Linked DNA regions of Homo sapiens: all the other regions are linked to region 5. The links are contacts of gene promoters, found by promoter capture Hi-C in blood cells and fetal thymus (Javierre and others, 2016). All regions are on one chromosome and are shown on one strand. The core of a region is centred on a gene start or on the middle of the fragment in contact, and the rest is flanking DNA. Distances in the headings are between cores, read along the strand shown. Region 1 has its middle 39 kb from the start of LINC01307. Region 2 overlaps LOC102723784 (a long non-coding RNA gene). Region 3 holds the start of GPR88 (G protein-coupled receptor 88). Region 4 has its middle 31 kb from the start of EXTL2. Region 5 holds the start of RNPC3 (RNA binding region (RNP1, RRM) containing 3). Region 6 overlaps EXTL2 (exostosin like glycosyltransferase 2). Region 7 overlaps SLC30A7 (solute carrier family 30 member 7).

Region 1 (3,674 bases), core at 193-2,692, 2.2 Mb before region 5:
TTTTGCTGAGTCCCGAGTAGTTGCATACGTGAGCCACGTTCTCACATCACGACTTTGTATGTGCTGTTCTGCAGTCCCTGTTGCTCTCTGGCCCTCTTCTCTCCCTCCTCGCCCCGTCTCACACACAGGCATTCTCTTGGCCTGGCTAATCTCTACTGATCCTTTAAACAAGAACTTCCAAGGGATATGAGAATAGAGGTGGGATTTGTAAGATTTTATTGTTTCAGATTTAGAAGTTGGATAGGTGGAGAGGAGCAGGGAAGACCATGCAGTAGGGATTAGGGAGCAGAATTATGGAGATCATTTAGAAGGCTGTTGCCAGACCTGTGGTGAAAATTGCCTGGGAGTGAGGCAAGGAAAATAAGGGATGTGGTGTGGAGAAAAGCTTCCCCCTAAAGCAGTATTGGTGGCCCCTGGCAATCAATCACAGGTGGAGTGATTGATTCTGAGCAAAGAGGTAATGCAACATGGTAAACAGAGACAGTTCCTACAGACAGACTTTTCTGGGGTGCTTTGGCAGTGGCCAAAGGCCTTGGAAGACTTGGAAGAAGGACTTCCCACTTTGGCTGCTGAAGTACTCCTGTCTCTGAAGGGCTTGAAAGCACTACTATTAAGCAAGGAATGGCTACTGCTAGCCTGGGAAAATGGTGGTGGGCTTGGCAAGTTGCAGGAGGCAATTAAATTGTATCCATCCCCTCCTCCCACACGCTCTGAGTTTGGAGGCTGTGGACCGCAAGGATGTCAGCTCTAAAAACATTTGACAGCCCTGGGGAGAGTCTCTGGTTCTTCCTTATCCATGACAGGCAAGGCAGACCACAGGTCACAGTTTCTCCCTGGCCTCTGTTAGCCTCTGATAAGCAAAACCTTCGGTGGGGAGAAATTGTTCTACTTTTTTACTTACTCAGATATAGTGAAATGTGTGCTTTTTCCCACTTCTGGGAAGCTAAGATTTATTAGAATCTGCAGATTGCTTCCTTCAAGTAAACATTATATAAAAGGGTCCTAGTTTCCTAGTGGGAGTTTAGTTTGTAGGCTAGTTCTACAAAGAGATAAATAGGGGTTTGTCCATTGTGTGCTCTCCAAATGCTCTATAAAGATTAACTCATTAATCCTCAGCCTCCTTGTGAGGATTGTTATCCTTCTTTTTCAGCCGTGGAATTGGGACGAAGTGCTGCACGGAGGGGCCTTGCCCAAGGCTACGCAGCTGGTAGACGGGGAAATGAGGCGGTTGCCGGCCGCCTCGCAGGCAGCTTTCCCTGTGAGGAAGGAGGTGCCTCGGGCCTCTGAAGAGGTAGCTGGGATAGCCTGAAATGAGCTGCTGAAAGCCCACGCTTCAGAAAGACAAAAAGCAAGCAAAACACACTGATGTGGTTGACACTCGCTGAGGATGTGCGATAACACAGACAGTGCCCGGGTTGAAGTGGGCCTTCCAGAGTTCCGTGGCAGCCGTGAAAGGAAAGTTAAATGAATAATGGCAATAACATTGTAAAGGAATGCTTCAGTACCTGAAATGTAAAGTGCATGAATGCTTACCAAAATTTGTCGTATTGTTATACTATTGCCTTATGTTTGTACGGTGCTTTCCAGTTCTGAAAGTGCTTTCACATGTTAAATGATTTGCTCACAATAGTTTTTCAAAGCAAATAGGTAGATATGGGTGGAATGACGTCTCCCCCTTCCCAAATTCATGTGTTGAAACTCTAAGCCCCAGTACTTCAGAATGTGACTGTATTGGGACACAGGGCCTTTAAAGACTTGAACAAGCTAAAATAAGGCCCTTAGCGTGGCCCTAATTCAATCTGACCAGTCCTTAGCAGAAGAGGAAATGAGAACACACAGATAGACAGCAGAGGTGCCAACATAACAGAGGAAAGGCCACGTGAAGACACAGCAAGGAGGTGGCCGTCTCCAAGCCAAGGAGAGAGGAGAAACCAAACCCGCTGACACCTTGATCTTGGACTTCCAGCTTCCAGAGCTGCAAGAAATAAATTTCTGTTGTTTAAACCACTCAATCTGTCATCTTTTGTTATGGCAGCCCTAGCAAACTAATATAGTAGACCATTTTGGAACACCTTTAAACATGTTAGAAATACTCATTTCTAACTAGAAAATATTAGTCACATAACAATTAGTTACATAACTTCCATACTGTCTCAGTAATAATAATATTAAAGATGACTCACACCTACTGAGCCTTCACCGTGTGCCAGACACCATGTAAATGTCCTACTTCATTTAATCCTCATAAAATGCCTCCAAATAAACAAATAGGGAAGAAGAAATAGCTCTTCCTTACAGTAGAATTTCAGTTGATACATGTAGAAGGAATCAGAAAAATAGAAGATTAATATTTGGCAAATGCCATAGTAGTAATTGCTGTAGGCAAGCCCCATGGATGGATACTATAATTAGTTGGTGAAAGTATGAGAAATAGAATATTTGTATAGTCTCAAAGTATCTCCCTAAAAGATATTTACTAATTACAAAGGGAAAAAATAGTAAGCTTAACAGTGGAGAAACCCAACATACATCACTTTAACCAAGTGGTCAAGAATAACCTCATCAATAATAGGACATACCAAGATCATGTACCTCCAGATATGATGCACTGAGAAGGGCACAATATCCTATTTGTGCCATTCTTGCCAAAAATGCATAACTTCAATCTATTCATGAGAAAACCTGGGGGACATTTTGAAAATAACTGTCCTGGATTTTCCAAAACTATCACTGATTGAAGAAGATGAAGAAGATATAATAGCTAAATGCAATATGAGATCCTGGATTGGATCAAAAAAAAGAAATCTGTGGGAAAACTGGTGAAATTCAAACAAGGTCTGTAGATTTGGTTAATATTGTTGTATCAATGTCTATTTCCTGGTTTTGATAATTGCATTACATTTATGTAAGATACTAATATTTCAATAAACTGGGTGAAGTGTATATAGAAACTACAATTTTTGCAACTTTACTGTAAGTCTAAAGTTATTTCAAAGTAGAATTTCTTAAAAAAACCTTCATGTTCTAATGAGTGTACAGTTTCCGTTATGCAAGATGAATAAGTTTTAGAGATCTGCTGTGCAACATTAATGTATTGTGCACTTATGAATTTGTCAAGAGGGCAGATCTCATGGTAAGTACTCTTACCACAGTAAAAAACAAACAAATAAAAATCCCTTTTAACTAGGTGCTATTAATATTTTCTCAAGTAAGTTGGCTTACTCAGGGTGAGACAACTTGTTAAGGGTGGAGCAAAGCTATGTACTCAGGCTGTCTGACTCTAGAGCTTATCCTGTACCCTATGATATATCCTCTTAGTACTTTTAGGAGACAGTGGAATTGTTAGCTTAGTTTTAATTTTTCATAGACTTGTATTCCTTTAGTCCTATGTTATAAAAAGCTTTTTCTAAATCATCCTGCCTCCCTTTAGTCCATGTGGAGGAGATTCTGGCAGAGTTGTTGAGTCAGAAGAAATACAAGCATGAGTAGGACACTGTACTGGAAACCATTGCCCACACAAAGAAGTAGCCGACTTCTCTGCTCTCCTCAGGAACTTACAAAGAGCTGAGACAGACAAAAGACAACTAACAATACAGAGCAGAAAACAAGCACCAACAAAGTAGTAGAGGCTCTGTGTGCCATGGGATGTTAGAGGAGAGAGGCCTGGTATAAGC
Region 2 (3,648 bases), core at 934-3,433, 2.2 Mb before region 5:
CCTAGGGAATAATCTGAAAGGAGTGGGATGAGTTGCTCATATCAAGTATTACATAGTTTAAAGTTGTAGGTTTGAAAGTCAGTTTCAGCCCATGAGTAGTAGCTTCCAAAAAAGAAAACATCCTCTTATGAAGTTTAGGCAGCGGATGATACTCACTGAGGAAACCATGATTAAGTCTCAGGAAACAGAAATGCAAGATAAGACACAATCTGCTTAATGAATCCGGATGGGTGGGCCTGATATTAAAGGCTTCTGATGTCACGACCAACCTTAATCATAAACTACACTTTTGAATAACATCCTTCTACTTCTCCATCTTTATCCACTTAAAAAATTTTACCTTGATGTCCTCTTTCTCACACAAACTCTTGGACCTTGTGATATTTTATCAGTCTGTAGAAGAATCCATTCCTCAGATTTCCCAAAACTGGGTGAAAGATGTCCTCGTGGAGTCAAAAGAGACTTACATGATTCCGAATGGGATTCTAGTCTCAAATGGCAAATTTCTACCAACCATATTTTAAAAGGGCATGGATGAAAATAATTCAGTAAGCCTATAAATAGAAAATAAAATTAAGAAAATAAGTCAAATTGTTGCATACTTCCAAAACCAGCCTCCCTTCCCAGCGAGAAACCAGATTTGCTTGGTGTCATAAACTGCTTCCTGCTCTTCAGGGAGCTGCCATTTCCTTGGCTGTATCTACCCGCAAGTGTCAATTCCTGATAACTTTGCTAGAGTGTGATAATACAAAGCAGGGCTCTTTGAGAATTATTTTTAGGGTTTTTTTTTTTTTTTTTTGAGACAAGGTCTTGCTCAGGCTGGAATGCAGTGGCTCAATCATGGCTCAATGCAGCCTCGACTTCTTGGACTCAAGCAGTCTTCCCACCTCAGCCTCCCAAGTAGCTGGAACCACAGGTGTGTACCACCATGCCCAGCTAATTAAAAAGAATTGTTTTTGGTAGAGATGGGGTCTCCCTATGTTGCCTAGTCTTGTCTTGAACTCCTGGCCTCATGCCATCTTCCCACCTTGGCCCCCAAAGTGCTGGGATAACAGGCACGAGCCACCGTGTCCAGCCTCTAGGTATTTTTTGAACAAGGATGAAAAAGAATTAACAGGGTAGATGATTGGGGTGGGAGGGGAATCTTGAGTTAGCTGTGAGTGACCACTCTTCCTTATTTCTTCATATGCCTAGAGAAGGAGATCATTCATTCATTCAACAAACATTTACTGAGCTCTCCCTATTGCCAGAGACTGTCCAAGGTACTGAGGTTACATCAGTGAACAAAAGAGAAAGAAAATATAAATCCTTGCTTTTATGGAACTTATATTGTAGTGGGGGAAACTCCTCTTGTCATCTATTTCTTTCTCCCTCGTGATCAAAAGATAAGCTTGTCAGACAAACTGAAGAAAAGAAGAGAAGATTTATTTCTGTCTTTGCCTCTGCTTTTGCCGTCTTTCCTCTTGCCTCAGAAGTCCCAAGACTCCATGATTTTCATAGGGACTCCTGTAAATAAAGAAAGCTGAGAAAATAAATTCCCACTATTTGCAGTTTCATAGAAGGATGCCTAGAAGAGGCAGTACTAGCTCTTTCAGAGGGATAAACCTAAGTCATTATTTCTTGCCAGAACCAGACTCCTGTTTCCCACTTCTGCAGAAGACATTGTTTCATTGTTCCATCAGGCAGCTAGGTGTAAAATCCGGGGCTCATTGTTGATTTCTTTCTCTTTTCAACTTCAAATTAAATCACTGGTCAAGATCTGTGGATACTGTATCCAATGTCATTCTCTTCTCCCATTCCTTCCACCAAACAGTCTAATTTCTCACTTACACTATTGTGATAGTCACCTAACTCCTTTCTCTCTTTTCTCAAATTCAGCCTCCATAACATTGGATTTACCATCAAGGACCAGCTTTGATCATGTCACCTCCTTGCCTTTCAATAAGCTTCATTGGCTCCCCACTTTAAATATATTCTGATGTTCTTTCAGCTCTGCCCTAAAACATCCTTAACATTTTATCTACAACGTTTAGGTTTTTAAATTTATTATTTATTTACTTTTGAGATGGAGTCTCACTCTGTTGCCTAGGCTGGAGCGCAGTGGCACAATCTCGGCTCACTGTAACTTCCGCCCCCTGGTTTTGAGGGATTCTCCTGTCTCAGCCTCCTGAGTAGCTGGGACTACAGGTGTGCGCCAGCATGCCCAGCTAAATTTTGTATTTTTAGTAGAGACAGAGTTTCACCATGTTGGGTACGCTGGTCTCGAACTCCTGGCCTCAGGTGATCCGCCTGCTTCAGCCTCTCAAAATGCTGGGATTACAGGTGTGAGCCAACACGCCCGGGGCCAACTTTTTATTTATCCCAAGTTCCTGCCTGATATGACATATAGTGAGACGACATACTTTTCCTGGTATTTTCCCCAAGCTTTCCAACAGCTAAACCTTTACTCCCACTTTCCTTCCTTTTGGAATTCCCCATTCACATCACTCCCATTTGAAATTCCACACATGAGCTAAGATGAAGTCCAAACTTCACTTCCTTCCTGAAGTCTTTTCTGACCCCTTACTGAACTGCGTTTCTCCTTTAGCACTCAGTTTATCTTGCAAGGTGGTTAATGCTTGCAGTCTTTTGTTTCTCCTCTCCCCTACTAACAATCAGGTCATTGAGGCAGGTCGCTGACTTCTTCTTTGTGTTCCTCTTATGGCTTTACATATGGCAGGTGCTTTGCAAGTATTTGTTGAATTATGGAATCATGGGGATTGGAAGCACATGTGTGGGTCAGTGAGTGGGGGATGTGTGTTTTTTGTTTGGAGCCAGGTGGGCTATAGGGATGTGTATTTTTTGTCAGGAGTGCTTTAGAGGTCATTTTTTTTGGGCTTGGGGTCAGCCACATTTGATATGTTTCCATTGTAAAATGAGACAGAGAAGCCTAGGCCCATGAAGATGAGAGTGCTGTCTTTGGCTGTAACCCTGATTTATGAGAGGAGCTGACAAATAACTAGTGCTGAATAACGTTGCTTAACATTTCCCCCTGGAGTTGGCCAAAAGAGTAGTGGAGAGAGAGACAATTCCTGTTTATTGAGTGTCTAGAATGTGCAGTGCAGGCGTTGATTTTGCTTGGTTCTTTTGTTTTGCTTTTGTGTGTGTGTTGGGGGAGGACAGGGTCTCGCTCTGTCAACCAGGCTGGAGTGCAGTGGTGTGTTCATGGCTCATTGCAGCCTTGACCTCCCAAACTCAAGTCCTCTTCCCGCCTCAGACCCGCTGAGTAGCTGGGACTACAGGCATGCACCATCATACCCAGCTAATTTTTGTGTTTTTTTGTAGAGACAGGATTTCACCATATTACCCAGGCTGGTCTTTAACTCTTGGGCTCCAGTGACCCGCCTACCTCAGCCTTCCAGAGTGCTGGGATTACAGGTGTGAGCCACCGCACCCAGCCTTGTTTTTTTTTTGAGATGAAGTCTTGCTCTGTCACCCAGGCTGGAGTGCAGTAGCACAATCATAGCTCACTACAGCCTCAAACTCCTAGGCTCAAGTGATCCTCCCTTCTCAGCCTCCCAAGTAGCTGGGACTACAGGTGATGTCACCATGCCCAGCTAATTGACAAAAAATTTTTGTAGAGAAGTTATGTTCCTTAGGCTGGTCTCC
Region 3 (3,763 bases), core at 1,010-3,509, 3.0 Mb before region 5:
GGAATGCTGCTCGTCTCAAAGGCAACACAAAGTGGCAGCTGGGACCAGGGATCCAGAATTTGAATACCCTCCCACCACATTCTATCAGAGAGTCCTTTAGGACTATGTTAATGTGAGAGAAAAAACTTTACTTCAATGGCAAGTTTTAACTATGAATGATTAGGAGAGTCTCCTTTCTCCTGAAACATTGCTCTTAGGGACAGAGTGGAAAAGACTCCTGGACATATGGGCCAGAACTACAATGCATGTTACAGAGAAGAGGTATACGCCATGTGTCATAACTAGAAAGGAGAAATGCAGGCTTGCTGTGCTTAATGCACTCAAAACCTCAATAAGGACAAATGGCAATAGGCAAAAAGATGATGACAAATACTCATCTCATTTACATCAGTAAACTTGATATCGAAACCTTCAACCCTCTGAATAGCAAGTCACTGGTTCTTTTCTTTCACTTCCCCCTCCGGCCCCTGCCCCTGCCCCAACCAATTTCATTCAGATATAGCTTAGCTGGACCAAATCTATCAAGTCATGCTTATCCTTAATCCTCATCAGAGTTCTTGAAGTCATCAACTAACCATATTGATTTTGAAATAGAAAAAGAAAAGCAGAGAAGCTGTGTTTTGACCTCTCTCCTGAAACATTGCTCTTAGGGACATATGACCCAGAACTACAACTGCAATGCATGTTAGATAGAAGAGGTATATGCCATGTGTCATAATTAGAGAGAAGAAATGCTAAATTCATGAATAGGGATTCACAGAAAGTTTTAACAGAAAGGGCCTTTGAAGTGACTGACTGTGAACTTATTTGACAAGATGAAAATAATCCATCGCAAGGCTACATGATGGATGCTCGGCTTAGTATCTGGGTGTGCTGCAACCCCACCTAACATTTTTTTCTATTATGCCATGTTACCATATTCCCATATTGAGTTACATTTTCAAATACATGACTTTTCCAGTGAATAATTGAGAGAACTCCTTTTCTGAAAAAATTCCCACATGGAATGGATAAATGAACACTTGCACCAAAGAAGATGCCAACATCAGACTGCAAATCTCCAAGACAGACAAGACAAAAAGTTCTGAAGTGAAAAGTCATCTTTGTTCACACTGTGGATTATTCAGGTTTCTTGCTTTCCCCCTGACACACATTTTTTTAAAATTGACTTTATTTTTTTAGAGCAATTTTAGATTCATGGCAAATTTGAGTGAAAGATACAGAGATTTCCCATGTACTCCCTGCCCCTCGCATACATAGCCTCTCCCATTATCAAAATCCCCCACCAGAGTGGTTCGTCTGTTACAATTGAATGTACGTTGACACATCATTCCCCAAAGTCCATGGCTTACACTGATGTTTCACATTCTGCCACTTTGGGCAAATTTATAAGTACACAGATCCACTATTATGGTATCATACAGAGTAGTTCCACTGTCCTAAGAATCTTCCGTGATCATCTATTCATTCCTCCTTTCCCCCTAACTCGGGCAACCACTGGTCTTTTTAACTGTCTCCATAGTTTTGCCTTCTCAAGAATGTCATAGTTGGTAGCATACAGTATGTAGTCCTTTCCAGTTGGCTTCTGTCACTTAGTGATACACACTTAAGGTTCCTTCATGTCTTTTCATGGCTGGACAGCTCATTTCTTTTTAGCACTGAATAATATTCCATTGTCTAGATGTACCACTGACATCTGCTTTAAATCTTTTGCCCATTTCATTTTTACCCTCTAACCATTTCATTACTAAAACACAAAACAAACTCCGGAAAGGAGTTTGTTGATGAGAAAACACTGAAAGTACGATTTAAATTGAGGAATGGAGATTTTCTGTGGATAATTGTCTATGTTCCACTTTACCAAAGAAAAATGAATTTCAAGTAGTGCATAAAGTAATTCTCGTTAAAAAATGTGGGAATAAAGAGATCAGTCCTGGGTACTGGGAATATATTTATCTCACAGAAAAATCTTGCCCACAAAATGCATCAGACTGAGATGAAATACTCTAGGGTATATTAAATTTTATTCTAATATTGAAGGGAGGGAAAAAAAGGACGGAAAGAAAAATGAAACAGGATGAAAAATAAGGTGATTGGGAGAGAGAAAAGACAGAGAAACTTGTTAACGACAGGACTTTCTGAGCAAGATATTTTTCTTCCTTTTACAAGTTGGAAGCTATTGAATAATTCATGCCAAGCGTGGAAAGGCTGTCTTTTCCCTGGATGATGTATAACTAAGCAGGAGAGAGCTTCGAGTGGGTTCACCACATCAGCCACCACTCCTGCTTCTGAGCACAGGGTGCTCTCCTCTTGAGCTCAGCTTCTGCTTTTGCAGCCAAGCATTCTTGCTGCTGCTGCCTGCCTGCCCACCCGCCTGGGCTTGCAGCCCGCCACTTTACTTTCTCCAGCCCTGATACCAGCTGAGAAGTCTCCCTGCAGCTGCTAGTTCCTGCCCAGGACCATGTGTGTGGATGCTGCTTGGGAGAAGCGGGCACTTGCTCCTGGCACTGATCCCAGCTGAGTTTCTCCTGTTGATTTCTGGACCACTGATGCTGTTGCTGAGGAGGTATTTCCCGGCATCCCTCCCCCTGAGACACCGGCTAAGGACCAGCCTAAACGCAAGGTAACCTTCACCTCTTTCCCATGGGATTTTCCCCAGCTGGGATATCTCTGCTTTCTCCTGGAACTAGGTCCTCCAGCTGGCAACATATCTCTCTCTCTCTCTCTCTCTCTCTCTCTCTCTCTCTCTCTGTGTGTGTGTGTGTGTGTTGGGGGAGAAGAGGAGACTGTTTTAGGTATTGCTCTGTCCTAGGGCTTCCCCGATACCTGCTGAATCCAATGCAAAGTGGCCTTTCCCCTGGCTCTGGAGACATTTCCGAGGCAGGCACCTGTCATCTGCCACCCCCGTCCTCCTCCTCGAGCTCCCTTTCTCCCCCTCCCCCAGCCCATTATTCTGCTTCAGCCTTTTGTGTCAGTGGCAGAGGGCTGAAGGGATGTCTTTGCCCTTCTGGCAGGCAGGACAGTGTCAGGATGGACCGCGCTGCCAGAAGCCGACGCTAGCGAGGGAGGTGTGAAGAGTTGGCCAGAATGACCAACTCCTCCTCCACATCCACCTCCTCCACCACCGGTGGCTCGCTGCTGCTGCTCTGCGAGGAAGAGGAGTCGTGGGCGGGCCGGCGCATCCCGGTGTCACTCCTGTATTCGGGCCTGGCCATCGGGGGCACGCTGGCCAACGGCATGGTCATCTATCTCGTGTCGTCCTTCCGAAAGCTGCAGACCACCAGCAACGCCTTCATCGTGAACGGCTGCGCCGCCGACCTCAGCGTCTGCGCCCTCTGGATGCCGCAGGAGGCGGTGCTCGGGCTCCTGCCCACCGGCTCTGCGGAGCCCCCCGCAGACTGGGACGGCGCTGGGGGCAGCTACCGCCTGCTACGGGGTGGGCTGCTGGGCCTCGGACTCACGGTGTCCCTCCTCTCCCACTGCCTCGTGGCCCTGAACCGCTACCTGCTCATCACCCGGGCGCCCGCCACCTACCAGGCGCTGTACCAGAGGCGCCACACGGCGGGCATGCTGGCGCTGTCCTGGGCGCTCGCCCTGGGCCTCGTGCTGCTGCTCCCGCCCTGGGCACCGCGGCCCGGCGCCGCGCCACCGCGAGTCCACTACCCGGCGCTGCTGGCCGCCGCGGCGCTGCTGGCGCAGACAGCTCTGCTGCTGCACTGCTACCTGGGCATCGTGCGCCGCGTGCGTGTCAGCGTCAAGCGGG
Region 4 (3,745 bases), core at 668-3,167, 2.7 Mb before region 5:
TTCTTCTGTTCACTAGAACTTCAATTCTGGAGTGTCCCAGGCTCTGCCCAGCCCTCTCTCCTTCTCTATTTATGCTATCCCCCTAAATGATTCGACCAACTCTGAGGGCTCTTAATATCATCTATGCTTTAATGATTGATCTCCAGTCTTCCTCATTTCAGTAAATATTACCAACATCTACCCCATGTCTTCAGCGAAAAACCCAGGAGCCCACATCTAATCTGTTCAACAAGTCTTGTATGTCTTACTGGCTAACTCCAAACATACCTTAAGTCTAACTACTTCTGACAAACTTCATTACTACCACCATGGTCCCAACTACCATTATTTCTCTCTAGATCAGGGTTTCTCAGTCTTGGCATTATTGACATTTTGACCAAGTGATTCTTTGTTCTGAGGGCTGTCCTGTGCACTGTAGGCTGTTCAGCAGCAGCCCTTCTCTCTACCCACCAGATGCTAGTCACATTCCCACTACACAGTTATGAACACCAAAAATCTCTCCAGACGTGGCCAAATGTCCCTTATGGGGCTTGGGGGGGTCGAAATCACTCCCAGTTGAGAACCACTTCTCTGAATTAGTGCCAGCAATCTCTTAATTTGTCCCCCTGTCCCACTCTTGCCCTTCTAAAATCTACATCCTATACAGCATCCAGAGTGATCTTATTAAGCATATGAATCGTCATATCCCATCCCCGGTGAAAACATTTCAGAGGCTTCCTTTGTACTTAGTCCACAGCTCAAGATTCTGGCATTATTTCCTTCTACTCTCACCTTCAGTTACTGCTCTGCAGTCCTCTGGCATTCTTGTCATCCCCCAAACTTGCCAAGTTTATTCCTATATTGGGGCCTTTGCCCCTGATGTTCTCTCTGCCTGAAATTCTCTTCCCACAGAGCATGCCTTAACAACTCATCATTCAAACCACACCTCACATCCTCCTCCAGCTTTTCCTGAACCACCAGTGAAAGAAGTCTCCTATAGCTACTCTCCATCACATTACTCTATTTTCTTTATCGGGGCCAGAGATTATATCACGTATTTTCACCAACTTATTGTCCTCCTGTGAAAATATTTACTCCATGAGAGGAGGGGCTTTATTTGGACTTGTTTGCCTTTTGCCACTTTAACATTAATTTCCTGAAAAGTGCCTGACCAAAACAAGGATCTGGAAAATATGAACCAATATATTTTTGTCTGATTAATTAGCTGATTAAACACCTATGTGATTCAGCTTTGGGGTTTGGGGGCTGTGGCTAGAAAAATAAATAATAAGACACGGCTCCTGCCCTCAAGGAGTTAGATCCAATGGAGGTTTTGGAGAAGTAAAAAGGAAATTACAATATAGAATACGAAGTGCTACAATAGAGGGAAGCTTAACTCAGATCTAGGGCTTCAGAGACTTCCTAGGGAGGGTGACATGAGCAAATGCATCCAGAGGGGTGAGTGAGAGTTAGCTGGGTTAGTGGGTGCTAGAGTCTGAATTGTGTCCCCTCCCAAGTTCATATGTTGAAGCTCTAACTCCCAGTACCTCAGAATATTACTGTATTTGGAGATGGGGCCTTTAAAGAGGTAATTAACTTAAAATGAGGCTGTTAGGTTGAGCTCTAATCTAATCTGACTGATGTCTTTATTATAAGAAGAAGAAATGTGGATACTCAGAGAGACATCAGGGTTGTACACACAAAGGGAAGACCATGTAAGGCACAACAAGAAGGCAGCCATCTATAAGCCAAGGGGAGAGGACTGGAACGGATCTTCCCTCATAGCTCTCAGAAGAAACTGCCCCTGCTGACGCCTTGATCTTAGACTTCCAGCCTCCAGAACTGTGAGAAAATAAATGTCTGTTGTTTAAGCCACCCAGTCTGTGGTCCTTTTTAGGGTAGCCCTTGCAAATGAATACAGCAGAGTGGGAAACTGAGGTGTGTGGGTGGGGTGGGAAGCACCTGGGTGTGGAGCACAAGCTGTATGGTTGTTAGAGGGGAGGCTGGAGAGGTTGGGAGGTCTGAGCTCATTAGGCCTGACCAAATAAAGGCCAGGATAGGAGTGTGAGCACTATGGTGAAGATTCTCAAGAACACTGAAAAATCACAAGCAGCACAGTAAGGTGATCAGACTTGCCTCCGAGAAGAATTTTAGTGGTAGCGTGATGAGTAGAGTGTAGGTGAGGAACACCAGAGATCCTGAGAGCAACAAGGAAGCATGTAGCTTTGCAGTCCAACAGACTGAGGTTCCCATCCAGGCTCTGCCATTTAGAATCCCTATGACTTTGGACAAGTTCTTACCCCTCTTTGGCTTCTGTTTCCTCATTTGTAATTATAGGTATGATTCTTACCTCAGGGGATAATATGAGAATTAAATAAGACAGCATGTGTAAAATACTTGGCATAATACTTGACAAATTAGAAACAACGATTGCCGGTAGCTATTAGAATATCCAAGGCAGTAATAGTAGAGCTGGGAAAAAGGGACAAGCTTGAGCTATCTTAAAGATGAATAATCTTTAAAACTTGGCCATTGATTTTATGTTTGGTGGTGTGAGAGAAGATGAAGTAAAAAATAACATCTAGACTTTTGAGTCGGGCAGGTTTTGGATTGTAATGTCATTCACCAAAGTAGGAAATGAAAACAAAGAACCAGGGAGGGGAAGAGGATGAGTTTAATTTTGGATACGTTGAGTTTGAGGGATACTTGGTACATATCAGAAGAGTATCTCATAGAGAGTTGAATATAGAGATCTAGATTCAGGAAAGAGGCTTGGGCTAGAGACATAGACTAGATTGATAAAGCATTTCATTGAAAGTGTGCAGAGTGAGAAGAGAAGCAAAATAGAGGTAGAACTCCAGGGACATATCCACCATCAGAAGAAGAGAAGACAGGATAGGAGGCTAAAAAGGAGCCTACAAAGAGAAAGGAGAAAAAGAAAAAGTGAAGTCAAAGGGAGGAAAGACATTTGAAAAGAGAGTAGTTAACAGTGAAAAAGCCAAAGAGAAATCAAATAAGGTAAGAACCAAGCCATACCCACCAGACTGTGTAATGCCTAGATATCAGGCAAGACTTGGAAAAGGATGATTTTAGGGAGTGATAGGGATATAATCCCTATTGTAATGAGGTAAAGAAAAAATGAGAGGTGGGGAAGTGAATATTGTGAGCTTTATTGTTCCATTTTTATTTTATTTTATTATTTTAGAGATAAGGTCTTACTATGTTTCCCAGGCTGGTCTTGAACTCCTGGGCTCAAGTGATCCTCCTGCCTCAGCCTCCCAAAGTGCTGGGATTGTAGGCATGAGCCACCACACCTGGCCAATATTGTGAGTTTGAGAATGAGAGACAGAGAGAGAAAGAGAGAGAGAGAGAGAGAGAGAGAGAGAGAGAGAGAGAGAGAGAGAGAGAGAGATAAACTCTGTCTGTAGAAGAAAAATCCTTTTGTTCCCTCACCCTTCATAACTCCTTGTTTCCCACCATCCTAACCTGTATTCAGCCCAGGGGTTCTTAACCCTTAACCTTGGGTTCATAGATCCACCTCAAGTGGTTCACAAATAGAATTTAAGGGATCTATGTAATTTCAGAAAAAAATTACAACTTCAATTTCACTCGACTGAAATCTAGCATTTTCACCAATTGTGAATTTAGGCAAAAACTACAGAAGATCAGCAGTACCTGTGACTGTCAAAAATATTTTTTCATATCATGTTACAGTTGTCGCAGATTTCTCAAAATATCATTTACACTCTTCACTTTTATGAAATTA
Region 5 (3,519 bases), core at 870-3,369:
GCATGACACCTGTCACCAACTGATCCCAACAGTTGATTTGGCTGATCTGGCTAACTAGCTGGGTTCCCCTTCCTTCCTAACTGCCCCATATATGTCTCTTCCAAAGCTGCCCACTCGGCTGAGGAGGATGACTTACCCCCATAAAGGAGGATGATTTTTCTGTAAGGGCATACGTGTAGCAGTGCTCCCTTGCTAGAAGCTCCAAACAAGTCTTCAAAGAACACACACAAAAAAGCCGCTGAAGGATAGTGTTTAAAATAGCATGACCACTCCAATCGGTTTATAACACTACCCTATTTTTTCCAAAGCACTTATTATTCTCTGAAAAGAACTTTATTTACATATTTATTCTGTCTTGATTTTAGAAAGTAAGCATTGAGAGGGCAGGAATTGATTGTCTTCTTCTTCTTCCTTGCCTCAACTTCTCAACATCTGCATGTCCCATGACTCCATTATGGGCACAATTCTATCTATACCCTTTGTCATTCTTCAGATATAAATACCATATAGGTTGATGCCATACCTCGTGGTAACCTTTCCCAAGAATGCCAAACACACACATTCAACTTCCTACTTGAAACAGGGATACTGAATAGATACCTTAAACTTAATATATGTTCCTCTATTCCCAATGTCCCACTACAGTTTCTAACCTAGCTATACTTGGTCAATCTTCTCACATTCAGTAAATGGCATCATCATCTACAGATGGATAATATCTAGCTTAAGCCAAAAATCCAGAATTTATCCTTGCTTACTATTCTTCATCTGCAAGTTCCTATCAACTACTTCTAAAACGTATCTCAATTCCAGTTCCTTCTCTACATGTCCACTTTCACCAAACTATTATGGTAGTGTTTTTCTCCAGACTTCTACAGTAGTCCAACTGGTCTTTCTGCTTCTGTTTTTTGCATTGCAACCGGAGAAATTTTCATACCTAAACTTTGATTCTCTCCCCTCAACACACACCTACTTAAAGAATTTGTCAGTTTCTAAATGTTCCTCAAATAAAAAGGGCTCCTAACAAATCTACAGCGTCTACGTGGTCTGGCTCTACCTATCTGATATTTTGGTGGGTGTGTGGGGAAGGTTCTTCTCATGTTTGTCTTCTAGTTTTCATTAATATCTGTCTCTCTCCTTTTCCCCAACCAATGCGGGATGACAGCAGATTGCTGGTATACTGCTTACTGCTGTATCTCTAACATTTATTTAAGTGGCAAAAAGAACTGTAAGAGGAACTCTGGTTCTCCAGACTGTAGCAGCTACATCTAGCATAAAACCTCTCTTTAGAATCCTCAAGGCCCTCTCTGTATGGGGTGAGGGGTACATTCCTGACCCTCCGGGGATGATCCCTGCCTCACTCCATTCAGAATCTAGGCAGAACAGTGGATTAGAATGTAGACCCCCAGTCAGAACACCAAGGGTCAAAACTTAGTTCTTCCACTTTCTAGCTGTGTGATTTAACCTCTTTGTACATCAGTGTCCTCAGCTGTAAAATAGGGAGAAAAGTACCTACACCTACACACACACACACATACACACACACACACACACACACCCCTACACACACACACATACACACACATGCAATAATTTATTTATTAGGTTACCTCTCCCTAGAGGCTGCCATTTCTGCGAAATGAACCCTGGCAGGGGCCTATCCGTCTGCTAAATGCCTACTGATTCAAGAAAAAAGTCTGAACTCTCAACGTTTTGCCCCTTAAACTGAGTTCTCCTCCCTACAATGGTGTCTAATGAGTTGACAGAATAACTGGCTAGCTTTATATTTTACCATCTAAATACTGTAAGAACATACCCGGTATTTCCACACCCAAGTTCTCCTCCTTGCTATTCAGGCCAATTCACTTTCCCAAGGCCAGGGATTAAGAGCCGCACGGTCAGCTCCAGATAGCGCTCGCCGCCGTGCGCCCCGCCCCGCCGTGCGCCCCGCCCCGCCGTGCGCCCCGCCCCGCCGTGCGCCCCGCCCCGCCGTGCGCCCCGCCCCGCCGTGCGCCCCGCCCCGCCGTGCGCCCCGCCCCGCCGTGCGCCCCGCCCCGCCGTGCGCCCCGCCCCGCCGTGCGCCCCGCCCCGCCCTGTGACGGTCCCAGCCCGCACATGCGCAGTCGTGAGTCCTCTTGTCCTTGAGCGTCAACCTTCTTTCCCTGAAGTGGCTGGGGTTCCTGTTTCCTTCTTTGATTGACAACTTGTGTTAACCCTCGCACATCTCTGGGCCAATTTTTGCTTGTAAGTCTTTCCGGAGACCCCTGGAATTTAAATCATTAGCACCGCGCCCTTCCCCGAAGAGTCTTCGAAGGGTTGCCGCTTTTCGGTGGCGCAGTTCTCGCGAGAAGGTGACTTTCTTTCTCGGTATTTCCTGGTTTCCAGAATCCTTAGCGCGAGGCGGAAAAAATATTTCTCCCAGCTTGTGTTGATGCCGCGATTTTGACTGAGACTTCTTCCCACGATTTCTGTTTTTGCTTCTCCAAGGAAAATGGCAGCTCCCGAGCAGCCGCTTGCGATATCAAGGGGATGCACGAGCTCCTCCTCGCTTTCCCCGCCTCGGGGCGACCGAACCCTTCTGGTCAGGCACCTGCCGGCTGAGCTTACTGCTGAGGAGAAAGAGGACTTGCTGAAGTACTTCGGGGCTCAGTCTGTGCGGGTCCTGTCAGATAAGGGGCGACTGGTAAGGGCGCGCCCCTCCGGAGTCTCCCGGGAAGGCATTTGGGAAGTGACCGGGGAGGGGGAGCGCTGACAAGAGTAAAATGGAAACGAGTGGGGAAGATGGACTTGTGTGATGAGAGCTCCCCCATCCTACCTCTTTTTTATCAAAATATCTGCTCTGCGAAGTGGAGTTTTAATCGGCTCGAGTCTGGATTAGTCATAGCACTGCAGAAAAGGGCAAGTGAGAACGACAAAGCAGAAGAATGGAAATTAGCTTAGTTATATTGAGTTTTCGGATCCATCCTGAGAGCCTCACAACTTTTTTGAATTTGGGGTTATTTCTCCTGGACTCAAGAGTATTCTTACAAATGTGCATCAAGGGATTTTTTAAAGTCCTACTTCATTTATAAGCCAATGTTAAATCGTTCATTAAAATAGAGGAGAAGCTACATTGGTGACTTGCGTAAATTAAATGCAGAATTTCAACTAGAAAAAGAGGCTTTTCATAAAAATTTCCCGATGACATCTTTTAGGGAACAATTTTTTAGGGCTGTTAAGAGTACCTGTGTAGGAATTTACACAATTACTTTGTTTTGCTTTATATCCAAAGATATTTTAGATTTCTCTTCATTAAAATAGGAATAGCGATGGTGCAAGACTCAGTGGTTTTAAAGTTTCCCTAGGTGATTTTAATGTTAATGTGCAGCCCAAGTTGAGAGTTACTGAATTAGAAGAAAGACCAATTTTGATCAGTTTAAATGTCACTTATGCCTGCAAATTAAAAAAAAAAAATTATATATGGCTCAATTTAAGTACATCAGGTCATCGTGTATCAGATTAGACAAAATTAGAATGTGC
Region 6 (3,411 bases), core at 716-3,215, 2.6 Mb before region 5:
AGTGCAAAGCCAGAAGTGAGGAAAATGAACTATTCAAAGAAATTTACTTATGAAAAGAAAGACTGGAAACAAAAACCAATCAGGAGTTTCTAAACAACATATTTAAAACACCTTTAGGAAAAAAATAGATCTCTGAGAAAGAATAGATGAGATGTTATTCTTGGTGACCTTAATTAACCCATAGTCTATCCCTTCTCATCCCCACTTCTGGTACAATTTCTCTTCTTGGCTATGATAAACAGTTACTCTCATCTATTGCTTAATACTGACAGATGTAATACAGCTGGATAAGACTTTTCACTGCTAACCACAGCTGAAGTATACTAACTGCAAAGAGCTACTGTCACTCTTCTTCTTGGTATAACACTGCCTCTGTACATTTTATTTTTGGTACTCCCCCTCTTCTTGGAAAAGTGAACTGTATGTATACTTACATAGTAATATTTAAGCTCTTGATTTCATGTCTTGTGGCTAAAGTCAGGCAATTGAAGCTAGGCCATCATTCCATAGGCAATCCTAAGACTGTAGTCTAAATTTAGTTTGGAATAGAATAGAATAGTTTTGGAATATTCTGTTCCAAACTAAATCTCATTTTACTTTCCTAATGATATCTACTCAACATTTTGTTTTTCACTGAGGAGACTTGGCAGTGGTTGGGTTAGTAACCATCATATTCCTGTAAGCTTGTTTCATGTTGTGGTGTGTGTTTTGTAATGGTAGAAAGTTTCCTCTCTATAGTTCAAGGACATAGAGAGATCATATATACCCCGTCTTTAACATTTTCCTTTGAAGTTTAAGTTTAGAGAATTGCAAAGAAGGACAAGAGCATACTCTCCATGATAGGACAGTATGCTCAGGCATGTGCAAGCAAAGGAAGAGTTTGTTCACAAAGACAAGGAGAAGATCATTGTCATTCAGCAGCTCTCACTTTTCAACAGTCCAGATTTGAAAAGTAATGTCACCTTTAGAGTAAGCTTTTGAGAGTGATTTCAAGGGTATCTCTCCTGGACTTTCTCTGCAGCTTGTTCTATTAAAAAGAGCAATTTTGTGTTTCTGCTTCTATCACGGCCTCACTCTTAAGGTATAAACAAATAAATTATTTTCAAGGTAACCTCAGCTTTTCCATGATTATTTTACAAGGATAATAACTTAAAGCTTTAGTGTACCATGTTTTCATTTTATCTACCCTCTTACTAAAACATGTAATGTTAATGTGGTCAAGGACAAATCATTACGAATTAACAATCTTGGTTCAAAGTCCTTGAAAATCCTTTTAATATTGAAGGAAAAGTAGGTCCCATAACACATATTTTCAGTTCTACATAAAAATGACTGGTTATAAGTACTGAGAATAAACAATCACTTTGACTAACTGCATTATAGTATACCATGATTAAGATCTTTATATTCATTTTCTGCAGCTGAGTAGGAATAGCACATTTTAAAACTTACATAGAAGTGTTTCTGATCTCTAGACACTAATAACTTGCTATCTAGCAGTTTTAATCTAGAAAAAGTAATAAGATTAATTACTATAGCTTACTATAAATATACACCGTTGAAGACACTCATGAGTGACTGCTTCCTTCTCATGTATTCTTTTAAGTAGGAGTTTATCCCCTGTATCCATCACAGACATTTCCTTTCAGATAGCTCCTAATCCCCCAATTTTACCTGTATCAGAAAGGTTTCAGGAGATATGAATAATTTATGTCTTTAGAAACATAGTGTAAATATTTCATGAGGTATTTATTAAATAATGCAACCCAATAAAATTATGTAAATTTTAGTTTGCATAGTAAAGTACGAAAAGCAAGGACTTTATAGACTGTAGTGCAAGTGGCACACTGTACTTTGACAATAGCTGAGGTCTAGAACTCCATTGTAGGCCCATTAGAAACAGCTTCAGTACAATTTGGAGAATAATGATGACTTTATGGCTAGAAGGATTTCACAGTTTTTGGCGTTCTTCTGTTCTTCTTTTAGAGAAAGAACCTATCATCTAATTTGCAGCTTTGAGCTTTGAATGAGAGATATGAGAAAAAACACATCTGGATGACCTATGTCGTACTTGGGAAGAACTAAGAAGTAAACATAAGCACCTCAGTTCTCTTGCCCTCATTTCCTAAACTTTCCCTTTTAGGTTTTGGTTTTTCATTTTTTAAGTTATGTCTTTATATATTTGCTGACACCCTGCCTCATTCCAAAAAGGATCTGACAGCTCTTAGTCTATTCCCCTTCTGTCCTTCACCCATCCCCATGACTGCAGTAAATATAACTTTGATAAATACAGTAAATGCCAACAAAACAAAAATCCTTCCTCTTCTCCTCATGAACGAAAAAAATCCAAGATTTCCCCCAATGATATTTTCTGCACATTAATTCATTAGTTCTTTATAGGTAGAGAACACATCCTTTTAGTTATTTTGATACATTGTTACTTAGCGTCTTCTACACCAGAGGTCCCCAATCCCCAGGCTACACATCAGTACTGGTCTGCAGCCTGTTAGGAACTGGGCTGCACAGCAGGAGGTGAGCAATGGGTAAGCAAGCATTACCACCTGAGCTCCACCTCCTGTCAGATCAGCTGTGGCATTAGATTCTCACAAGCGTGCAAACCCTATTGTGAACTGTGCATGTGAGGGATCTAGGCTGCATGCTCCTTATGAGAATTTAATGCTTGATGATCTGAGGTGGAACAGTTTTATCCCAAAACCATCCCCCACCACCCATCCATGGAAAAATTGTCTTCCACAAAACAGGTCCCTGGTGCCAGAAAGCTTGGGGACCACTGCTGGGGACACCAAGGGTTTTCAACTAGAGATGATTTTGTCTTCCAAGGGACAGTTGGCAAAGTCTGGAGATATCTCTGATTGTCACAACTAGAGGGGAGATACTATTGCTATCTAGTGGGTAGATGTTAGGGATGCTGCTAAATATCCTGCGATGCACAGGACAGCCCCCCATGGCAAAGAATTATCTGACCTAACACGGCAATAATGCCAAGGTTGAGAAACCCTGATCTACATATAGGTTGCCTAATAAAACACACTTAAACATCATGATGAGGACTACTAGAGAGGTGGCTTCTGAAAATCCTACTGCCATTAGTTATACTCAAACAATAAAGGGCAAAGCCCTGTCTCTAAAACTGCCCCGGGAGGCCCAGCATGATGGCTCAAATCTGTAATCCCAGCACTTACGGGGGCAAAAGCAGGATTCTGCCTGAGCCCCAGAACTTGAGACCAGCCTGGGCAATGTCATGAGACCCCATTCCTACAAATAAATTAAAAAATCAGCCATCTGTAGTGGTGCATGCCTATAGTCCCAGCTACTTAGGAGGCTGAGGCAGGAGGATAGCTGGAGCCAAGACGTTGAGGCTGCTGCAGTGAGCTGTGATTGCATCACTGC
Region 7 (3,685 bases), core at 1,128-3,627, 2.6 Mb before region 5:
ATATTTGGTTTATGTTGGGTGCATATAAAGTAAATTTGTTGAAAAAAAGGAGTGTGTGTTAGTTTGCTAGTCTGGTGTAATAAAACACCACAAACTAGGTGGCTTAAACCACAGAAATTTATTGTCTCACAGTTCTGGAGATTAGAAGTCAGAGATCAAAGTGTCATCAGGGTTGATTTCTTCTGAGAGCTCTGAGGAAGAATCTGTTCCATGATCTTTCTGTAGCTTCAGTTGGTTTTCTAGTAATCTTGGACAGTCTTTGGCTTGTAGGAGCATCACCTGATCTCTGCCTTATCTTCGCATTGTGATCTATGTATCTTCTTCCAAATTTCTCTTTTTTATAAGGACACTGGATGAGGGCTCACCTTAATGACCTAATATTAACTAATTATATCTGCAATGAGTCCATTTCTAATAAAGTCACGTTCTCAGGTACTAGAGGTTAGGACTTCAACATATGAATTTGGGCGCAGGAACACAATTCAACCCATGACAGTGTTTTACTAAATAATAGTGAAATAGATAGTAAAATATAGATCAATAAATCAGTAAATGTTTGTTTATATTTATTTACAATGAATGCCCTGCCTTCTAAAACTGATTACAGTAATTTAAAATAAAAGCTATATATACTAATAAAACACATTAAGAAATAAAAACATTTAGAAACCATACCTAGGGAGGAAAAAATTAATCTATTAAATATATAGTCTAATTTAGCTCCCAAAATTGACTTTTAAATTTAGTTATAAAATTCCATAAAGTGAACACAACTCTATCATTTTATCAGAGTAGAAAGACAGTTTTCTGAAATCAAATTTTAACAGTATTTTGCCATATTAATCTTTTCTTGGGGGATCGAAAACAAAATCATAGACAATGTCTTTATTAATGGTTTTATCACAGTATAGAGAAATTCTTCACATGAGTCTTTCATACTTCAAAATAAAGTTAAATCATTATTTTCCATGTTACATAGATGTTATGGTTCAAGTGTGTAATTTTCGGTAATCTAACTATACAAGGACAAATCTTAAAATATTAAATCTAAGAGAATTGCATGAATAATATGCCCCTTACCTTGTCCTCATGTATCAGTTTTATTATTCTGCTTTATCATTTATTCACCAATTCTCATTCTGCTTTGAGTTAGATGTCAGATGAGATGGTTAAAGTACTATCTGCACTTAAACTTTCTAATATATCTATATTTCAGTGGAATAAATAAGGTTCATGATAAAAGTTTAAGACATTTTCTAAAATCTTTTGTAATGATTTGGCAGAGGTTTATAAATTATTGTGCTTTTTCTTGTTGGTAAATGATGTGCTTTGACTTAGTTTCTAATTATATAATTATTCCAAATTATGAGAAAAATTTAAAACCATGCTTTTTCTGTATGTGTGAAGAATGTTTTTGACTTTTAGTTTGTAGCACTTCCAACTGATGAAAACTCTAGCATCTAGCCAAATATTAAGAGGTATGGGTTGTGCTTGGGAACACCAGGTATTATAAGCATTAATAATAGTTAATAATTAATAATGTGATTTATTAATAATTAGCAATAGGAATATTAATGTGGTTTTAATGTGACAAGCATTGTGGTAAATGTTTCATATATATTAACTCAATTATTATAACAATTATGACACTTTTATACTATACTCTATTGAAGTGATGGCTAAATTGAGGCACAAAGAAGTTAAGTAACTTACTGGTCACGGAACTAGTAAATTTGGAGCTGGGATTTGAACCCAGGTACTCTGACTTCAGAAGCTTGTTTTTAAAGACTGAACTGATGATTGCTTTCAGAACATTTTTATTGACTTCTCTTCAAGTTCACGGATTTCTTTCCTCAGCTGTGTCCAGTCTGTGATAAGCCAATTGGAAGAATTCTTTATCGCTGATAACTTGTTTTTTGTTTCTAGTATTTCCATTTGATTGTTTTTTATATTTCCCACTTCTCTACCAAATTCCCCACTGGTTCATATTTTTTTGTCCACTTTTTCCATAGATCCTTTAACATATTAATTAGAGTTTATGATAGCTCCAGTATCTGGGTCAATATCTTGGTCTGGTTCTGTTAACTGCTTTCTCCACAGTGACTTCTTTTTTTTTTTGGCTCTTTGTGTATTTTGAAATTTTTTTTATCAAATATTGGACATTATGAGTAAAAAACAGTAGATACTGAGGTAATAGTATTTATGATCGGAAATAGGTATGCCTTGTCTGTCAGACCACTAGTTGGTTGGACTTTGTGCTTTTAGTAATCTCTGTATGGTGCCTGTGCCACAGAAGCTCTTTTCTTCATGCGCTTACTCCTGCCCAAGCTATAGACTGCTGTTGCTTGTTACTCAGTACCCAGTTTATGGTGAAGGCAGAGGGGTATTTGTTAACTTTAACCCAAAGCCTCTGTCTTTGGTAGATTCTGTAAGCCTCAACCTCAGGGGTATGATTTTGTCAACATTTTTACTCCTTCTCCTGTAATAGCCAAACTCTACTGTGTGTATGTTTATGGTCCTGGATGGAGACAACTTTCCTTCTCCATTCTCAGTGGTAGCAGAACGTCTGCTTTGTGTTGGTAGAGGATTTCCTTCCCTTCTTTTGGTGGCTTTTCTTAGTGGGTGCTTTAGTATGTATAATATTAATCTTTAAATTATCACAAATAATATGTCATTTCATGTATCTGATAAGAACCTTACAATAATACACTTTGATTTTCTTATTCCATTCTGTGTGCTATTATTGTCATACCTTAGGTTGTTGACAGTATTTTTTTTCTCTTTCAATACTTTAAAGGTGTTGCTCCATTGCATTCTGGCTTGAATAGTTTCTGAAGAAAAACATGCTATAAATTTTATCTTTATTTTTTTAATTTAATTTTTCTCTTTCTTCCCCTCTGGTTTTCAAAGATTTTTTTATTTCTCTTTGATGTTTAGTGGTTTGTGACGTGTGGAGGGTTTTTTCCTCGCTTGGGTTCATTAAGCTTCTTGGATCTGTGATTTATTTTCTTTTATGAATTTCAGAAAACTCTGAAACATTTTCTCTTTAAATACTTTTCCTATCCCTTTCTTTTTTTCTTTTCTGTTCCTGAGACTCTAAATACATGTATTTTAGTATGTTTGATACGTCCAGACAGGTTTGGGATGCTCTGCTTTTTTTGTTTGTCTGTTTGTTTCCACTCTCTTTTCTCTTTGTGTTGCACTTTGTTTAACTTCTTTTGACCTAACTGATTCTTTCTCTCTGTGTCCAGTCTGCTCAGAAGCCCATGACTGTTATTCCTCCATATTGTAATTTTTAAAAAATTATCATTTCCATTATATTCTTTTATAGTTTTTATCTGCAGAAATTATTCATTTGTTAATGAATTTTCTCTGACTTTATACCACATCCTTTGACATATTAATTGTATTTGTTGTTAAAGTCCTATCTAATAGTTCCAACATTGGGGCCATTTCTGGTTCTGTTGACTGTTGTAGCTCTTAACAATGAGTCTCTCTTTTTTTCTTTCTTGATTTTGTCATTGAGTGCTGGACATTCTGTTTAAAAGAATAATAGAGACTGTATATGTCCAGAAATGGGCACACCTATTTTTCTGTTTGGCCGTTAGTATGGGACTTTCGAAACTATTTGCTCAGTAGTCAAACTGGGGTTGAGCTGGGTTTTGTGTTTTGTTATTGCTGATTT

What was found. Contacts are between HindIII fragments. The CHiCAGO score rates a contact against its expected background, and 5 or more counts as called.
Region 1: a contact is called between a fragment that was not itself captured here and the fragment with the promoter of RNPC3 in region 5, in 3 of 17 cell types (naive CD8 T cells, fetal thymus and total CD4 T cells). The highest score is 5.6, in naive CD8 T cells.
Region 2: a contact is called between a fragment that was not itself captured here and the fragment with the promoter of RNPC3 in region 5, in 1 of 17 cell types (naive CD4 T cells). The highest score is 7.7, in naive CD4 T cells.
Region 3: the fragment with the promoter of GPR88 here is called in contact with the fragment with the promoter of RNPC3 in region 5 in 1 of 17 cell types (non-activated CD4 T cells); the score reaches 5.3 in non-activated CD4 T cells.
Region 4: a fragment that was not itself captured here is called in contact with the fragment with the promoter of RNPC3 in region 5 in 1 of 17 cell types (activated CD4 T cells); the score reaches 5.9 in activated CD4 T cells.
Region 6: a fragment that was not itself captured here is called in contact with the fragment with the promoter of RNPC3 in region 5 in 1 of 17 cell types (total CD4 T cells); the score reaches 5.8 in total CD4 T cells.
Region 7: a fragment that was not itself captured here is called in contact with the fragment with the promoter of RNPC3 in region 5 in 2 of 17 cell types (total CD4 T cells and neutrophils); the score reaches 9.6 in total CD4 T cells.

What each region holds. Positions count from the first base shown.
Region 1 is chr1:101,282,882-101,286,555 of GRCh38, forward strand. No RefSeq gene overlaps it. Among named protein-coding and RNA genes, the nearest start is that of LINC01307, 39 kb to the right of the region's middle. The HindIII fragment of the contact is 2,118 bases long and covers 384-2,501 here.
Region 2 is chr1:101,298,669-101,302,316 of GRCh38, forward strand. It overlaps LOC102723784 (a long non-coding RNA gene), which reads right to left. Exons shown (of 6, transcript XR_947643.3): 5 at 341-554. Among named protein-coding and RNA genes, the nearest start is that of LINC01307, 23 kb to the right of the region's middle. The HindIII fragment of the contact is 478 bases long and covers 1,945-2,422 here.
Region 3 is chr1:100,535,880-100,539,642 of GRCh38, forward strand. GPR88 (G protein-coupled receptor 88) reads left to right here and starts at 2,260. Exons shown (of 2, transcript NM_022049.3): 1 at 2,260-2,623; 2 at 3,015-3,763. The coding sequence starts at 3,088. RefSeq lists enhancers at 2,684-3,533, 2,982-3,381, 3,534-3,763 and a silencer at 3,652-3,763. The HindIII fragment of the contact is 8,214 bases long and covers 1-3,763 here.
Region 4 is chr1:100,861,838-100,865,582 of GRCh38, forward strand. No RefSeq gene overlaps it. Among named protein-coding and RNA genes, the nearest start is that of EXTL2, 31 kb to the right of the region's middle. The HindIII fragment of the contact is 1,099 bases long and covers 1,369-2,467 here.
Region 5 is chr1:103,523,580-103,527,098 of GRCh38, forward strand. RNPC3 (RNA binding region (RNP1, RRM) containing 3) reads left to right here and starts at 2,120. Exons shown (of 15, transcript NM_017619.4): 1 at 2,120-2,683. The coding sequence starts at 2,492. RNPC3-DT (RNPC3 divergent transcript) reads right to left here and starts at 1,929. Exons shown (of 4, transcript NR_168321.1): 1 at 1,817-1,929. It also overlaps the pseudogene RN7SKP285. RefSeq lists a silencer at 1,912-2,011 and an enhancer at 2,332-2,571. The HindIII fragment of the contact is 7,657 bases long and covers 1-3,519 here.
Region 6 is chr1:100,879,378-100,882,788 of GRCh38, forward strand. All of the region lies in intron 2 of EXTL2 (exostosin like glycosyltransferase 2), which reads right to left. Among named protein-coding and RNA genes, the nearest start is that of EXTL2, 14 kb to the right of the region's middle. The HindIII fragment of the contact is 1,625 bases long and covers 1,154-2,778 here.
Region 7 is chr1:100,902,427-100,906,111 of GRCh38, forward strand. All of the region lies in intron 2 of SLC30A7 (solute carrier family 30 member 7), which reads left to right. Among named protein-coding and RNA genes, the nearest start is that of SLC30A7, 8.2 kb to the left of the region's middle. The HindIII fragment of the contact is 1,210 bases long and covers 1,773-2,982 here.